3 separate regions of the Homo sapiens genome follow, and all the other regions are linked to region 2. Evidence: promoter capture Hi-C in 16 types of primary human blood cells and fetal thymus (Javierre and others, 2016). All regions are on one chromosome and are shown on one strand. Each heading gives the region's core, a stretch centred on a gene start or on the middle of the fragment in contact. The rest is flanking DNA. Distances are from core to core; before and after follow the strand shown. Region 1 holds the start of ZNF420 (zinc finger protein 420). Region 2 holds the start of ZNF528 (zinc finger protein 528). Region 3 holds the start of ZNF569 (zinc finger protein 569).

Evidence for each region. Contacts are between HindIII fragments. The CHiCAGO score rates a contact against its expected background, and 5 or more counts as called.
Region 1: the fragment with the promoter of ZNF420 here is called in contact with the fragment with the promoter of ZNF528 in region 2 in 5 of 17 cell types (total CD4 T cells, non-activated CD4 T cells, total B cells and 2 more); the score reaches 7.7 in total CD4 T cells.
Region 3: the fragment with the promoter of ZNF569 here is called in contact with the fragment with the promoter of ZNF528 in region 2 in 1 of 17 cell types (total B cells); the score reaches 5.5 in total B cells.

What each region holds. Positions count from the first base shown.
Region 1 is chr19:37,077,020-37,081,738 of GRCh38, reverse strand. ZNF420 (zinc finger protein 420) reads right to left here and starts at 3,306. Exons shown (of 5, transcript NM_144689.5): 1 at 3,169-3,306; 2 at 1,351-1,394. LOC105372390 (a long non-coding RNA gene) reads left to right here and starts at 3,542. Exons shown (of 2, transcript XR_001754095.2): 1 at 3,542-3,641. RefSeq lists an enhancer at 3,231-3,470 and a silencer at 3,561-3,850. The HindIII fragment of the contact is 14,557 bases long and covers 1-4,719 here.
Region 2 is chr19:52,395,390-52,400,012 of GRCh38, reverse strand. It overlaps ZNF528 (zinc finger protein 528), which reads right to left and starts at 2,164. Exons shown (of 7, transcript NM_032423.3): 1 at 2,109-2,164; 2 at 1,394-1,646. It overlaps ZNF528-AS1 (ZNF528 antisense RNA 1), which reads left to right and starts at 2,256. Exons shown (of 7, transcript NR_125345.1): 1 at 2,256-2,551; 2 at 2,746-2,818; 3 at 3,261-3,403; 4 at 3,514-3,648; 5 at 4,263-4,415. It also overlaps a transcript of ZNF880 not described here. RefSeq lists an enhancer at 1,653-2,852. The HindIII fragment of the contact is 5,447 bases long and covers 1-2,589 here.
Region 3 is chr19:37,465,389-37,469,948 of GRCh38, reverse strand. It overlaps ZNF569 (zinc finger protein 569), which reads left to right and starts at 2,505. Exons shown (of 6, transcript NM_152484.3): 1 at 2,505-2,865; 2 at 4,476-4,560. ZNF570 (zinc finger protein 570) reads right to left here and starts at 593. Exons shown (of 5, transcript NM_144694.5): 1 at 392-593. RefSeq lists enhancers at 419-918, 2,635-2,684. The HindIII fragment of the contact is 12,295 bases long and covers 1-4,560 here.

The DNA of each region.
Region 1 (4,719 bases), core at 2,057-4,556, about 15 Mb after region 2:
CCCCATCTCTGCTAAAAAAAAAAAAAAAAAAAAAAAAATACAAAAATTAGCTGGGCATGGTCGTGCCCGCCTGTATTCCCAGCTACTCGGGAGGCTAAGGTAGGAGAATCACTTGAACCTGGGAGGTGGAGGTTGCTTGAACCTGGGAGGTGGAGGTTGCAGTGAGCCAAGATTGGGCCACTGCACTCCAGCCTGGGTGACAAAGCAAGACTCTGCCTCAAAAAAAAAAAAAATACATGAAGCAGAAACTGAAAGAAACTACAAGGAGAAAAATCCAACAAATAAAAACTCAGTAAAGATATGGAAGATTTAAAAAATACTATCAACCTACCTGACCTAGTTGACATTTATAGAACACTCCACCCAACAACCACAGAATATAGTCTTTTCAAGTGCACATGGAACATTTACTAAGATGCATCAAATTCTGGGTCATAAAACAAATCTTAATAAATTTAAAAGGATTAAAATCATATGAAGTATATTCTGTGAACACAATGTAATGAAATTAGAAATCAGTAACAAAAGATCTCTGGAAGATCCTCAAAATATTTGAAAACATGACACATCAAAATAACCTATAAGTCAAGAAATCAAAGGGGCAAATTAGAAAGGATTTTGAACTGAAGGTAGAATAAATGAAACAAGATTGGAAAGTAATCGCTTTTTTTTTTTTTTTTTTGAGACAGAGTCTCGCTCTGTTGCCCAGGCTGGAGTGCAGTGGCGCAATCTCGGCTCACTGCAAGCTCTGCCTCCCAGGTTCACGCCATTCTCCTGCCTCAGTCTCCCGAGTAGCTGGGACTATGTGCATCCACCACCACGCCCAACTAATTTTTTTTTTTTAATTTTTAGTACAGACGGGGTTTCACCTTTTTCCAGGATGGTTTCGATCTCCTAACCTCGTTCCATCCGCCTCGGCCTCCCAAAGTGCTGGGATTATAGGCATGAGCCACCACACCTGGCCGTGATCGTTTTTAAGCTAGGCATATTCATTATACTTTTGTGTACATTTGAAACTTTCCATAACAAGCTAAAAAAAGTTAAAAAATCAAAATGGTGCTGTATCAGAAATAACACAATAGAGCTCTTTCCCTTTTTAAATAACACAATAGAGCTATTTCTCTCTTCCCCTTTTTAAATCCATGAGTCTCAAATCCATTCTTCGTAAATTTAACCACTATTGGGGAAGCATCTATCCCGATTAATGGCACATTTTCTTTGCTCTCAATCTACCAAAAATTGCCTTGCCCCTCTATCATTTGAGAAGGCAAGAAATTTCAAAAAGAAAACAAAAATGTCTATGTCCTGTAATAACAAAGGTATTTCAGGAAACAAAGAGGAAATACTCACCTTGGACATTGCTACTGAAACAGCCATTCTTTCTCCTCTGGGCTCTACTCTCAGAAAAAGAAAAATGGAATGAGATATTAGGCCTTTCTTGGGGAATATGCTAAATTATAACATACCCTCTTCCTCCATCCTCTTAATCTCATTTAACATAAAGAAAAGTCAGGAGGAGACTAGAATAAGTCTTCTACCTTCTGTATCAGAAAGAAGGGCCAGGTCACAGCTGTCTTGGGCTTGAATTTATTTCTGTATTCAAAGCTGTACACTGGAGACAGTCCTGCAGTGGGGTGCTTCAGGTTCAGAACTGGGTGGCTGTCTCCTAAAGCACTCCCTCTGAAACTATTCCCACTCCTGGAGTCCCATTATATTTCCAGTGGCCTATTTATTTATTTATTTAGAGAATGAGTTTCACTCTTGTTGCCCAGGCTGGAGTGCAGTGGCTTGATCTTGGCTCACTGCAACCTCCGCCTCCCGGGTTCAAGCAATTCTCCTGCCTCAGCCTCCTAAGTAGCTGGGATTACAGGCATGCGCCACCACGCCCAGCTAATTTTGTATTTTTAGTAGAGGTCATGGTGAAACCATGACCTCAGGTAATCCACCCGCCTCTGCCTCCCAAAGCGCTGGGATTACAGATGTGAGCCACCGCGCACAGCATCCAGTGGCTGTCTTGAAGGTATTATCAGCCCTAAAATTCTCATCCTAAGACCAGGTCTGTAACTTGCAAATAACTCCTATTCATCACTCAGGTGTCCAAATGTCTGACTTCCTTACTTCTTGCCACTTCCCTGCACCCAATCCCCTTAAGGCTATAAGGCAAGAGGACGCAGGGAAGAAGTCGTGAACTCGTAAGTAACTACATTTCCCAAGGTGAACCGAGGATGGATACAGAAATGAAGCAATACAGGCCATGGATGAAAGGGCAGCCACTGTGGTCAAATCAAAAAGTCCTTAAGTCCTCAGAGCCACATGGGAGGAGCACAGAGCCACATGGGACTCACAATCCATAGGCAGACCTCAGCCCCAAATGAACCCCAGAAATACCAAAAAGAAATTTACTTCTGTACTGGACTAAACCCCCATAAGGTCACAGAATATACAAATGGCCACATAAAGTCACACATAATCACATTTCCACAGTTACACAGCTAGAGGCACAATCACCCAATTATGCTACATTGTTAGACCACCTTGTCTCAAACAAAATCCCATTAAGTACAAGGCATATAATTACATCCAAGCACCTTGTCAGAGACACATACCGCCAAAAACACCCTTTCAAAGCTGCAATTTTAGTCTCTTTACACAGTCATGAAAACAGCACACACAACCCCACAGTCACACACAATCAGACAGTCACCCAACCCAGTACGAAATCAGGGAAACACGCGGTAATAAACACCGTGTCACAGCAACACTGTCACACACCTTAAATTTACTGGCAAATCCATCCCACGATATCAGGTTTACACACAACCTCAAAGTGACACAAGAACATCCAAACACTCTTGTCACAACTGTCACACACTTCATAGTCACAGGCAAACCCCAATTATACACGCGGCACACATAAAATCACAGTCACATAAGTATATCCCAGCCAGGTAAGCAAACAGTCACAAACACCCTCAGAGTCACAACTCACACTCATACAAATGCTCATACACAAAACCACAGCCACACACGTCCAGTCGTGTATGCACAGGCAGTCGCCAATACCAGGCAGGCTGTAGCCTGCACACAAAACCGGAGACACGGCCACACGAGTAACCCCAGCGACGCTTTCTCCGCGCGTGTCCGCTCCGGCATCCCGGACACTCCTACCTTGACAGAGGTGCAGTTCAGGGTCCAAGATCTGGCTCCCGGGTTCCAAGCCCAATTTCGGGTTCGCCAGCCCAGCAGGTGCGGAGCCAAGCTCCTCCACAGACGCGGCCCTCTCCCCACGCGAGGCCTCCAAATCTCGCAAACTAACGGAAATGAAGCTACGCTCCGGGAGCGGTGCCTCTGGGAAATGTAGTCCAGCGCTCCGGACGCCGTGCCTCTGGGAAATGTAGTCCAGCGCTTGGCTAGCCGGCCAGAACGCCAGGAGGCCCGGGCCGCTCACCCCTCGAGGGGCTCGTGGGCTCGGCCTGTGGAACCTGCTTGTCCCGCCTGCAGCGCCCCGGAGGTTTCTGGGAGTGCCCGCCCGCCCGCGCTCAGTGCGCAGGCGTCAGACGCTCAGGGCCTGCGAGAGCGAGCTGAGTGGTCCCAGGGTCTACCCCTGGCAGGAGAGAGGGTGGGACCCGCCGGCCAGGCAGGTGCGGGGGAGGAGCTGGGGCCGGTGCGGGGACCCGCCGGAACCTCGGATTTGCAGAGGACCCTGTGTGTGCCCTCCCAGGCCCTTGGGGTGTGTGTGACAATGGGAGATGCCAGGTGGACTGAGAGTCTTTCCGTGGCCGGGTGTGTATGGTTGTGTTTCTGCCTGTGTGTGATTCTTCCTGCTGTGGGGTGTGAGGTGATTTGTACTTTAAGCTGCGTAGTAATGGGATTTTATAACTGTGTAGAATCGTCTAACAGAGTAAGACGATTTTACACAGATCTCTATTGTGGTTTGCTTATGAAGGGTATCTGTATGTATATCTGCTTTTTTGTGTGTGGCCGTAATTGAGTAACTGGTGATCTGTGTTATATAAACGTGCTTTCTTTGTGCTTGTATTTCAGTGTCTGTAAGGGTGCCAAGAGCAAATGAGCTGTGTGTGATCGTGTGTGACAGTGAAAATACTATGGCCAAGTTATTTCTTCCTTAAATAGTAATGTAATAATCTGGAAAAGATAATCAATTTATCTGACAAGTAATTTAGACATCATTTTTCTATTGGATCAAATATATGTGTTATCGGGAAGAATCCAAAATTAACGTAGTTTTTTCTTTGTTTTTAGAAAGATTATTTCAAAACCAGTCCTAGGGTAACTGCCTTTTCCTCTGCCACAGCAGGCCAAAAGTAGATATCCATTATTTTCTAATTAGAGGGTAAAGTTTCTCTTATTACTGGGTACGGTTGAGAGGCCATCAACTAATAAAATAATAAAACAACGTTATACATAAGAAGAGTGAATTTTAGCACAGTACAGCACTAGTCAGATTTCCCAAATTCTAGGTCAAACACTTGTCCTCATTTTCTGATGAGAAAACCTTGGCCGGCAGAAAGTAACTTAAGGCTGTAGAGTTTGTTGGTAAACCTGAACTTATTTTTACTTACTTCAAGACCTCTTGGCCTTTTATGATTTTTGAATAATCAAAAACTTGTGAACTTCCAGCACAGAGAAGATAGAGTATAATTTCACCACTCCTTCAGAGGGAAAAAAATTAATAAAACTTGGTCTTGCAAGACCATA
Region 2 (4,623 bases), core at 915-3,414:
CCTGTTGGAAAATTCTTCCCCTTACTGTTTGAGACAGGAAAAAACCACACTGTTTTTACTACTCTCACACCCAAAGGAGAATCCCTCACCTTTAGTGATCAAAATGTGTCTGTGGTTGTTCCTACACTGACCAGTTAAACTGAGTAAAATTACAGAACACCCAGGTGCTGTCTGACGAAGAACTGCTTGTTGGTGACAAGTAATTCCCATATTACTTTGGTGACCAGAGATGAGGCATTCTGTGTTGAGCGCTCTTTATTGTGTTCACTGTGAACACAAAAACACACTGGTTTTTCCTAACTTATACACTCACACCCTAGTCCATCCCAAGAAAAGAGAAGAGTGCCTTATAAATAGTGTTCCAATTCTCATCTTCATGTGTGGTTTTTTGTTTTTTGTTTTTTGAGATGGAGTCTTGCTCTGTCACCTAACCTGGAGTGCAGTGACACGATCTCGGCTCACTGCAACCTCTGCCTCCCAGGATTAAGCGATTCTCCTGCCTCAGCCTCCAGAGTAGCTGGGATTACAGGCGCAGGCCATCAGGCCCAGCTAATTTTTGTATTTTTACTAGAGATGGGTTTCACATGTTGGCCAGGCTGGTCTCAACTCCTGACCTCAAGTGATCCGCTCACCTCAGCTTCCCAAAGTACTGGGATTACACGTGTGAGCCACAGCTCCTAGCCTCATGTGTTCTAAACAAATTTTATATTATAGAAAAATTAATATGTCACAATTCAATCATAATTTCCAATCAACTCACCACTCATCTGTAACCAGGGTCCCCCTCTTTCCTCACTACTGTTTCCCTGCCTCATTCTGTACATATCTCTCATTCTCATCTTTTTTCCTAGCTCTTTTTTTCTCTATTTTCCCCTAGGATTCTGTTCATTTTGAGTCCCTCCTCTTCTCTTTGTCCCATTCTTCCCTCTATTCCTTCTCTCCCACCTGTTCTGATCCATTTTTACAACTTGTTTCACCTCTTATTCCTCTTTCTGCCCAATCTTTCATTGTCCCTAATCTCCATATATTTCTGCCTCTTTCCTCCCACATCTCAGCTCCCCTTGGGGTCTCCCTGTTAAATTCCATCTTCGATATTACACACCCCTGTCCCCACTCTCTGGCACCCTTAGATCCCAGGCCTCCCCCTGCTGTGGTTCTCCCTGTTCTCCTTGTGACCAGCTGCCCCCTCTGGCTGTCCCAGCACCACGCTGCTCTGTCTGACCTGGCTCCAAATCCCTCCTCCTCTCCCCCCTCTGTCTGAGAAGCCTTCCCTATCTTGTTGAATTTCGTCTTTCTACAGACCCAGGTTTGTCTATATTTTTACAGTTACTTTTCTCCCCTGCTATTTTCTCGGCACCTTCTTTCACTGTGCCTCTGCAAACCCCTCACTCACCTTCTACTTTGCCTTCTGTTAATGGGTCTCTCATTCTTCATTTCTCTTTCAAAATTTCTCTATTTCCTCTGCCTCGTTCCCATCTCTTTTTCTCCACACATTCACAGGGAGGGGATTGGAATAAGATGCCCACTTCCGGAAGAGCTCATTTTCTGTGGGCTGGAAACTGGCTCGAGAGAACACTGGATGTCAGGAGACTGAAGTCACCCCCCACACTCGGGGTCAGGAGAACCGGTGGCTGGAAAAGGGAGGCCTGGGGAACAGAGGGTCCAGATTAAGGAGCAAAAAGGCAGGAGTGGGTCAGGAGAGGGGTGGAGTCTGCAGAAACCAGGTCTGGGCAGAGGACGAGGCCTCTCGTGCCCTGTTGGGGCGCTGAGCTCTAGGGGCAAAGAAGGGCGAGGCTAGGGGAACGGAGAGTGAGGATTTTACGTGGTGCGGGGCGTGTGTAGGGGTTACTAAAGGATTTGAAGCAGGTAAACCCCACGATAGGAGGTGTCTACGTGGGTAAATGACAAAAAGACCGGGCACACGACCAGCCTCCAAGCGATTTTAACACGCAGAAAGCGACTCCCAGACTCTCAAAGGATGTCTGAATTTACTCGGGGTGGAGGGAGCGGTGCCGGGATTTCAAGGTCTGCATGCCCCTCAGCTCCCGGGTATAGAAGCAGAGAAGAACTGGCTAGCCTAGACTTAACATAGACAAAGGGAAACTCACGCACTGCTGCGAAAACAGTTTCTCCCTGCAATCGGCTTCCGGGTCTACCGGAAACTGCGCTCTAGGCGTTCGCCCCCCGCGGTCCGCTTCCGGGTTTGCACGAAATTGCGCGCGCATCCTAGAGGCCGGACTGGCTGGGACCAGGGCGGGCCGGGACAAAGCCTGGGCCGGGCCTGCGCTTCCGTTCGCTTGACTGGCTGCGCTTGTTTTCAGGGTTTTGGTCTGAAAACGGATCTTACCTGCGCAGAGCAAAATCGGTTGTAGATTATATCCACGAAAATTCCTTCTATTAAAATGAATTTCAAGTCCCACCTACCCTGGAAGCAGAAAGAGAGAGAAGAGAGAGAGTAAAGAGAAAGAGAAAAGAAAGAGAAGTTGAAAAAGAGAAAGAAAACCAAGAAAGAAAGAGAAAAAAACCGAAAATAAATGGACAAGAAAGAAAAGTAAGGAGGGAAGGGAAGGGAGGAAGGGAAGGGAAGCTTTAGGAATTGAATTAACACACTTTGGAATTGTCTGTGAAGGGGATGATGCAAGCTAAAATGTGAAATGCAAAACCCTGCCAGGGTAGAATGTTCTATTTCATGCCAGTGCCCATAGAAGATAAATACTTTTCATTTATCTTCCCCATTCACTCTAGACGGTGAAGGTCAACCCTGTGCTCAATTCCAGAGACTTTCCTAGGGACATCGTGTTGGGCATGGAGGACTAAGGCCAGTGTGAAGATAAGTCACCGATTCTTTAAAAAAAAAAAGCCAGTAACTTATAAAAATAGCCATAAACGACGTAGTTTTTTGTTGTTGTTGTTGTTTTGAGACAGCGTCTCCCTCTGTCCCCCAGGCGGGAGTACAGTGGCAGGCACTCAGCTCACTGTAACCTCCGCCTCCTGGGTTCAAGTGATTCTCTTGCCCCAGCCTCCAGAGTAGCCACCACGCCCGGTCCAACTTAGTTTTTTAATACTTTTTAAAATTTTAAGACAGGGTCTCTGCCACCGAGGCTGAAATGCAGTGGCGCAATCATAGCTCACTGCAACCTTGACTTCCTGGGGTCCTGGGCAGGTGACCCCCTGTCTCAGCCTGCCGAGTAGCTGTGAGTAAAGGCCTGTGCCTCTCCACTGTGCTAATTTTCTACTGTTTGTTGCTTTGTTTTTAATAGAGATGTAGTCTGGTTTTGTTGCCCAGGCTGGTCTCCAGCTTCTAGCCTCAAGCAGTCTTCCCATCTGCTCCTACCAAAGTGCTCGGATTATAGGCATGAATCACCTTGCATGGGAGATAAGGACCCCCACATCAAGCCCTCAGGTTATTTTTGAAACACAAATACATAAGGCCCACAAGCAGGCCCATTGGCTGCAGACAGTGGGGTCACCTGAAGAACTTTTCTTTGATCTGAGTACCAACTTCTCACCTAGGTCACTGGGATCCTGGACTACGGCACTGCTCCAGGCAGGCCTGGTTATCCTGCTTGAGGCAGCAATCCTCTTGAGCCTAGTGAAATGCAACTGGCTGTACCTCAATGATGTTGCCCTGAGATTCTGCCAGTCGAGGTATTACTTCAATCTCCTGAGACCAGCCTCTACCTCCAGATCCAGGGAGGTCAGTGCACATGTAAATGGACTAGCTTTATTAAAGGGGATATCTGGGCCAGGCGTGGTGGCTCACGCCTGTAATCCCAATACTTTGGGAGGCCGAGGAGGGCAGATCACCTGAGGTCGGGAATTAGAGACCAGCCTGGTTAACATGGTGAAACGAAGTCTCTACTAAAAATACAAAAAAAAAAAAAAAAAAAATTAGCCAGGCATGGTGGCACACGCCTGTAGTCCCAGCTACTCGAGAGGCTGAGACACAAGAATTGCTTGAATCTGGGAGGTGGAGGTGCAGTAAGCCAAGATTGCGCCACTGCACTCCAGCCTGGGAGACAGAGCGAGACTCCGTCTCAAAAAATATAAAAATAAAAGGGATATCTGGATTGGCGGAGAGACTGCAGGACAGCATTCAAGTGGGGTTGAATTGGCCCAGTTGCATCTGACTTCTCACTTGTAGTTCCCAAGAATGAATATAGAATGTGCTGGAAAAGCAACATCCTGAGAGGAAGGGACCGGTGAGAAAAGGACAGGATGTGTTCCAGATCCCCAGAACAGGATCCCCTTTGTTGCTTTAGGCCAACGTGCCATGCATCCCTGGAGCATGAAACCCAGGATGGGCCGCCTTCCAGCCTCCCACAGCTGTGATGCAAGTTGAACACATACAGAGAGACTGCATCTGCACTGGGTGGTTTTCCTGAGCCTTGGGGAGCAGAATGCATGAATCCCAGGTATCTGCCGATCTGTATGTAACAAATTCACTTCATGTAACTTACTGTGTGTCCGTGAGATTATCTCTCACTCAACTCAGACACATTGGCAACCAGTGTGCAGTGAACCTGCTTCACAAGCAAGGATGTGGAGAAACTATTTTCGTACATTTTGTGGGAATCTGAAATACTGCGGTCAGTATGGAAAGCAGTATCATGGGAAACTTCC
Region 3 (4,560 bases), core at 1,256-3,755, about 15 Mb after region 2:
TTGATATGACTTGGGCTGGCTTTAAAAGCCTCTCCGTGGCACACAGTCTCTCACTCAATCCCCCACATAATCAGAGTCTGAAAAACTACAGTGCCAACCACCGTCTTACCCACGCCACAGTCAGAGGCCATGGGTATGGACTGCCTCACACGGGCACCCTTTCCCATACCGGCAAGGCTCAGCCACCAGGGTATCTATCACAAGCGACAATCTCACAACCCAGTCACAAAGAAGCCGCGGGTATCGGCCCAACAAGGTGCAGCGAACAGTCGCCCGCTCCCGCCTCAACTCACAGCCTCACATTCCACGGTGCCATTGACTTCCTCGCACCCAGTCACACAGGACGTGGACAGGCACACGGGGTGACAGCCTCGCACTGAACGGTACCAACCTCCACTCGCACCGGAGTCACACAGATGGCCTGCGACGAGCTTCCGGAGACCCACACGCCACTCCTCAGCCCACTCCCGACCTGCAGAACAGAACTGGTGGAAGATCTCCTTCCTGCCCCGAAGGCTCGGGGAATCTGCACTCGGGTCTCACCGCTACCCTTAGTTGGATGGAACCCAGCCCTTACGGGCCCGGAAAGAAGCGCCTCAGCTGCCTCCGCCCCCGGAGGACACAAAGGGGCCGCCGGCCCAACTCCCGCGGGGTCCGCTGGGAAACGTAGTCCGGAGTAGAAAAGGTCGCGGCGTCGCAGTGTCTGGCAGCAGCGGTGCAGCTCCGCGCAGGGTTTGTAACACGGCCTCCTCCCCACCAGGTCCTCCCACACTGGCCTCTCCCCGGCCTTCCAGAGAGCCCGAAAGTCCGGATTCCCTGCAGCTCCGAGCCTGGCCCGGTCACAGGGACGGGGCCCAGCGTCACACTACACGGGCTGGTGTGGAAGTGCGCAGGCACAAGCGCTCTGCGCGCCTCCCTTAGCAACCAGGGCGGGGAGTTGAGAATCGCAGGTTGGCCGCAGGGAAAAGGTTTGTGCGTGGGAACGCGCTAGTGGCGCGTCTACTCAAAATGGGTGGGAGGCGAATTCCTAGAATTGTGCTGGATACCCGAAAAAAATTGGGAGGGGAGCGGGGTGGGGGGGATGCAGGGTGGTAAACTGCGCAAGCGCACTACACTCCTGGCAGTCTCCCACCCGCTACCCTCAGCCTGGCACGGTGGCTCACGCCTGTAATCCCAGCACTTTGGAAGGCCAAGGTGGGCAGATCACGAGGTCAGGAGTTCGAGACCAGCCTGACCAACATGGTGAAACCCCGTCTCTACTAAAAATACAAAAAAATTAGCCGGGCGTGGTGGCACGCGCCTTAAGTCCCAGCTACTCAGGAGGCTGAGGCAGAAAAATTGCCTGAACCTGGGAGGCGAAAGGAGGCGGAGGTTGCAGTGAGCCGAGATCGCGCCACTGCACTCCAGCCTGAGCGACAGAGCAAGACTCCGTCTTAAAAAACAAACAAACAAAAACCTCGTGACCTCAAATGATCCGTGCGCTTTGCCCACCCAAAGTGCTGGGATCACAGGCGTGAGCCACCGCGTCCGGCCTATTATCTCTTTATTAAAGGTATTAAGACCGGCCCCGTGCGGCTCATGCCTGTAATCCTAGCACTTTTTGAGGCCCAGGCGGGAGGATCGCTTGAGCTCAGGAGTTCGAGAGCAGCCTGGGCAACATAGCGAGACCTTATCTCTACTAACAAACAAACAAAAATCAGCCGGGCGGAGTGTCCCTTGATTGTGGTCCCAGTTACTCGGAAGGCCGAGGCAGAGAATCGCTTGAGCCCGGGAGTTCGAGGCTGCAGTGAGCCAACATCGCGCCGCTGCACTCTCCAGCCTGGGCAACAAAGTGAGGCTCTGCCTCAAAAAAAACAAAACAAACAAAAAAAAAAAAACACGAAAGGCATAGAGAAGTTAAGTACCTAGTCTGAGATGACACAGCTAGTAAGGCCAAGTCTGTTTAGAAGTCAGGCGGTCTGGCCACACTACTTTTCGCTCACGATCCCGGGTCATGAAATCCAATAACACTGTCACACTCACAATCGAGAAGTCCAGAAAGAACAAATACATGCACATTGTCTCTGACAAAACTGCAAGGTCAGAATCAAACAGCCACGAGAATATAAAACGCGACCATGGTCACACAAAAGGTCGCATATTCGCACGACCTCAGATGTCACTGGACAGGGTCTCTCGCCCTGGAAACCCCACTCCAAATTCCATGGCCGAAGTTTCACACATACAGTCACACTACGTCACTCCTCCCTCTTCTAGCCGCTGTCAGGACCTTAAGGCTCCAGCTGACCCGGCCTTCACTGGCCCTGGAGCTCTCACCACCTTCACCCCGCTGTATTCTAGCCTCAGGTAGAGACCCAAAAAGACGGAACTAAACACACTGAGCCGGGCTTCCTTCACGGACCTTGCGAACCTGCAGCTCCAGCCGACTGTAAGAAGGAAGTGCCTTTTTGCAGGTGGGGTCGGGGAAGTAGGGCCGCGAAGGCCTCTGGGAAATGTAGTTCGGCGCAGGAAGCAGCGGAACGATTCGATTCTTCTCAGCACCAAGTTGCGCTCCCAATCTCTCAGAGCTGGGCTCGCGGGAGGCCGCTCGTGCAAAACCTAGGCTGAGCTCCCCTGCGCGGAGCTGTGAGCCCTGGAACACCGTGGTCTGCTTCTCAGGACGCGCAAACAGTGAAGCCAGTCCCGCCCGGGTGAGCCGCGGGGGCCTCTGGGAAGCGTCGCCCCTGGTGTAACGGACCGAGACTTGTGGCGCTCTCAGCCACCGACAGCGCCGGCCTCAGTGCCGCCTCTGTCCCAGCCCGCGCCGGCTCTGCCACTTTGGCAGCGTTAAGTGTGGAATCGGGGCCTGTGTCCGCGGGCTTGGTGGTGAGTCCTCGGGAAACCGCTAGCTCTGAGCGCCGGACTCTTTGTGCTGGGTGGGAGTGGGGGCCCGCGGTCCTGGTGCCCCAATCTTTGGAGGAGGACGCCGGGCGGGGCGATGCCTGTGCTTGTGGTTCCCTGAGGCAGTGGGAGTGGCGTGTGAAGGACTGTGAGAGTCTGGCGTGAAGTGACTGTCATTTGCCAGACATTCGTCTGGCTGAGTGTGGCCCCGGGATCGTGTCCGTAAGCGGATTTCGTGGAGGCGCTTTCCCTTTTATCTTTCAGTATGAACCTGCGTGCAAACGTGCATGACAGTGGGATCTTGAATGAATGAAAAACTGTGGATACAAGGTAGGGTGTGCTTGTGGGTGTAGATGTGTGAGACTTGGCGTTTGTGCCAGCGCTGCATGTCTTTAGCTTTGGTCATTGGAAATACGTTGTTTTTTTGTTTTTGTTTTTGAGATGGAGTTTCGCTCTCGTTGCCCAGGCTGCTGGAGGGCAATGGCGCGATCTTGGCTCACCGCAACCTCCGCCTCCTGGGAAGAAGCAATTCTCCTCCCTCAGCCTCCCGAGTAGCTGGGATTACAGGCGCACCACCACGCCTGGCTAATTTTGTATTTTTAGTAGAGACGGGGTTTCTCCATGTGGGTCAGGCTGGTCTCGAACAACTGACCGCAGGTGATCCACCCGCCTCGTTCTCCCAAAGTGCTGAGATTACAGTCGTAAGCCACCGCGCCCGGCCGGAAATATGTTTTTATATGAAACATCGATATCCCCAACACTTTAATATTTATTTATTTTTAATTTTATTTTCGTGTATTAGCTACGTTGTTTTGTGTACTTACTAAACTCATTCTCCTCCTTCCCTACTCCACCCCATTTGGGGAGTGGAGTGGGGTGGAGAAAAATACAGAAAAGCTCGAAGAACAAAAATCATTCATAGTTCTACAGGCCATGCAACTACTGTCAAAATTTACTTTCCATCTTTTCACCCCCGCCTTTGTGTATACATACGTATACATTCATATGTTCTATATGTGTGCATAATGGCTTCAAAATTGCAGTAACACTATACATACAGCTCTGTAACCAACCTTTCTTGTTTAACAATGTATGATTAGTATCTTTCCATTTAAACAATCACAAATTATGCATTCATTTTAAAGTATTTCATGGTATACGTTTACCCCTGTTGATGGGTGATTTAGTTCTCTGTAGCTTCTTGAAATTATAAACTGTGTTTATCAGCAACTATTTGGCACGTGTTTAAATATACTTTTCTAAATTTTTTTGGAGGGGGAGCAGACTCCTAAAAGTAGAATTGATAGGTTAAAATGTATGCTTTTATTAAAGGTTCCCAGAACCTATCCAATTATTCTGTAAAGTTCCAATAATCTGCAGTATTATTGGCATAGTATAAGACTGCTTATATCCTCATACACTGTTGATAACAATGGATATTCTAAATAGTAGTAATCTTTGTTAACCTCATGGATATAAATTAATTTGCTCTAAAACAATTGTTTCATTACTTATTGAAGTCAAGCATTTAAAAAAATCTTTTGTAAATTATATGTTTTCTAAAGTAGTGTTCTGTTTTCAAATTTCTTTTCCAGAGTTCTTCATATATTAAGGATTCATTCATTCATAGACTCATTTATTGAAGGCTGTCTGTGTAACAGGCACAATCCTAGGTGCTTG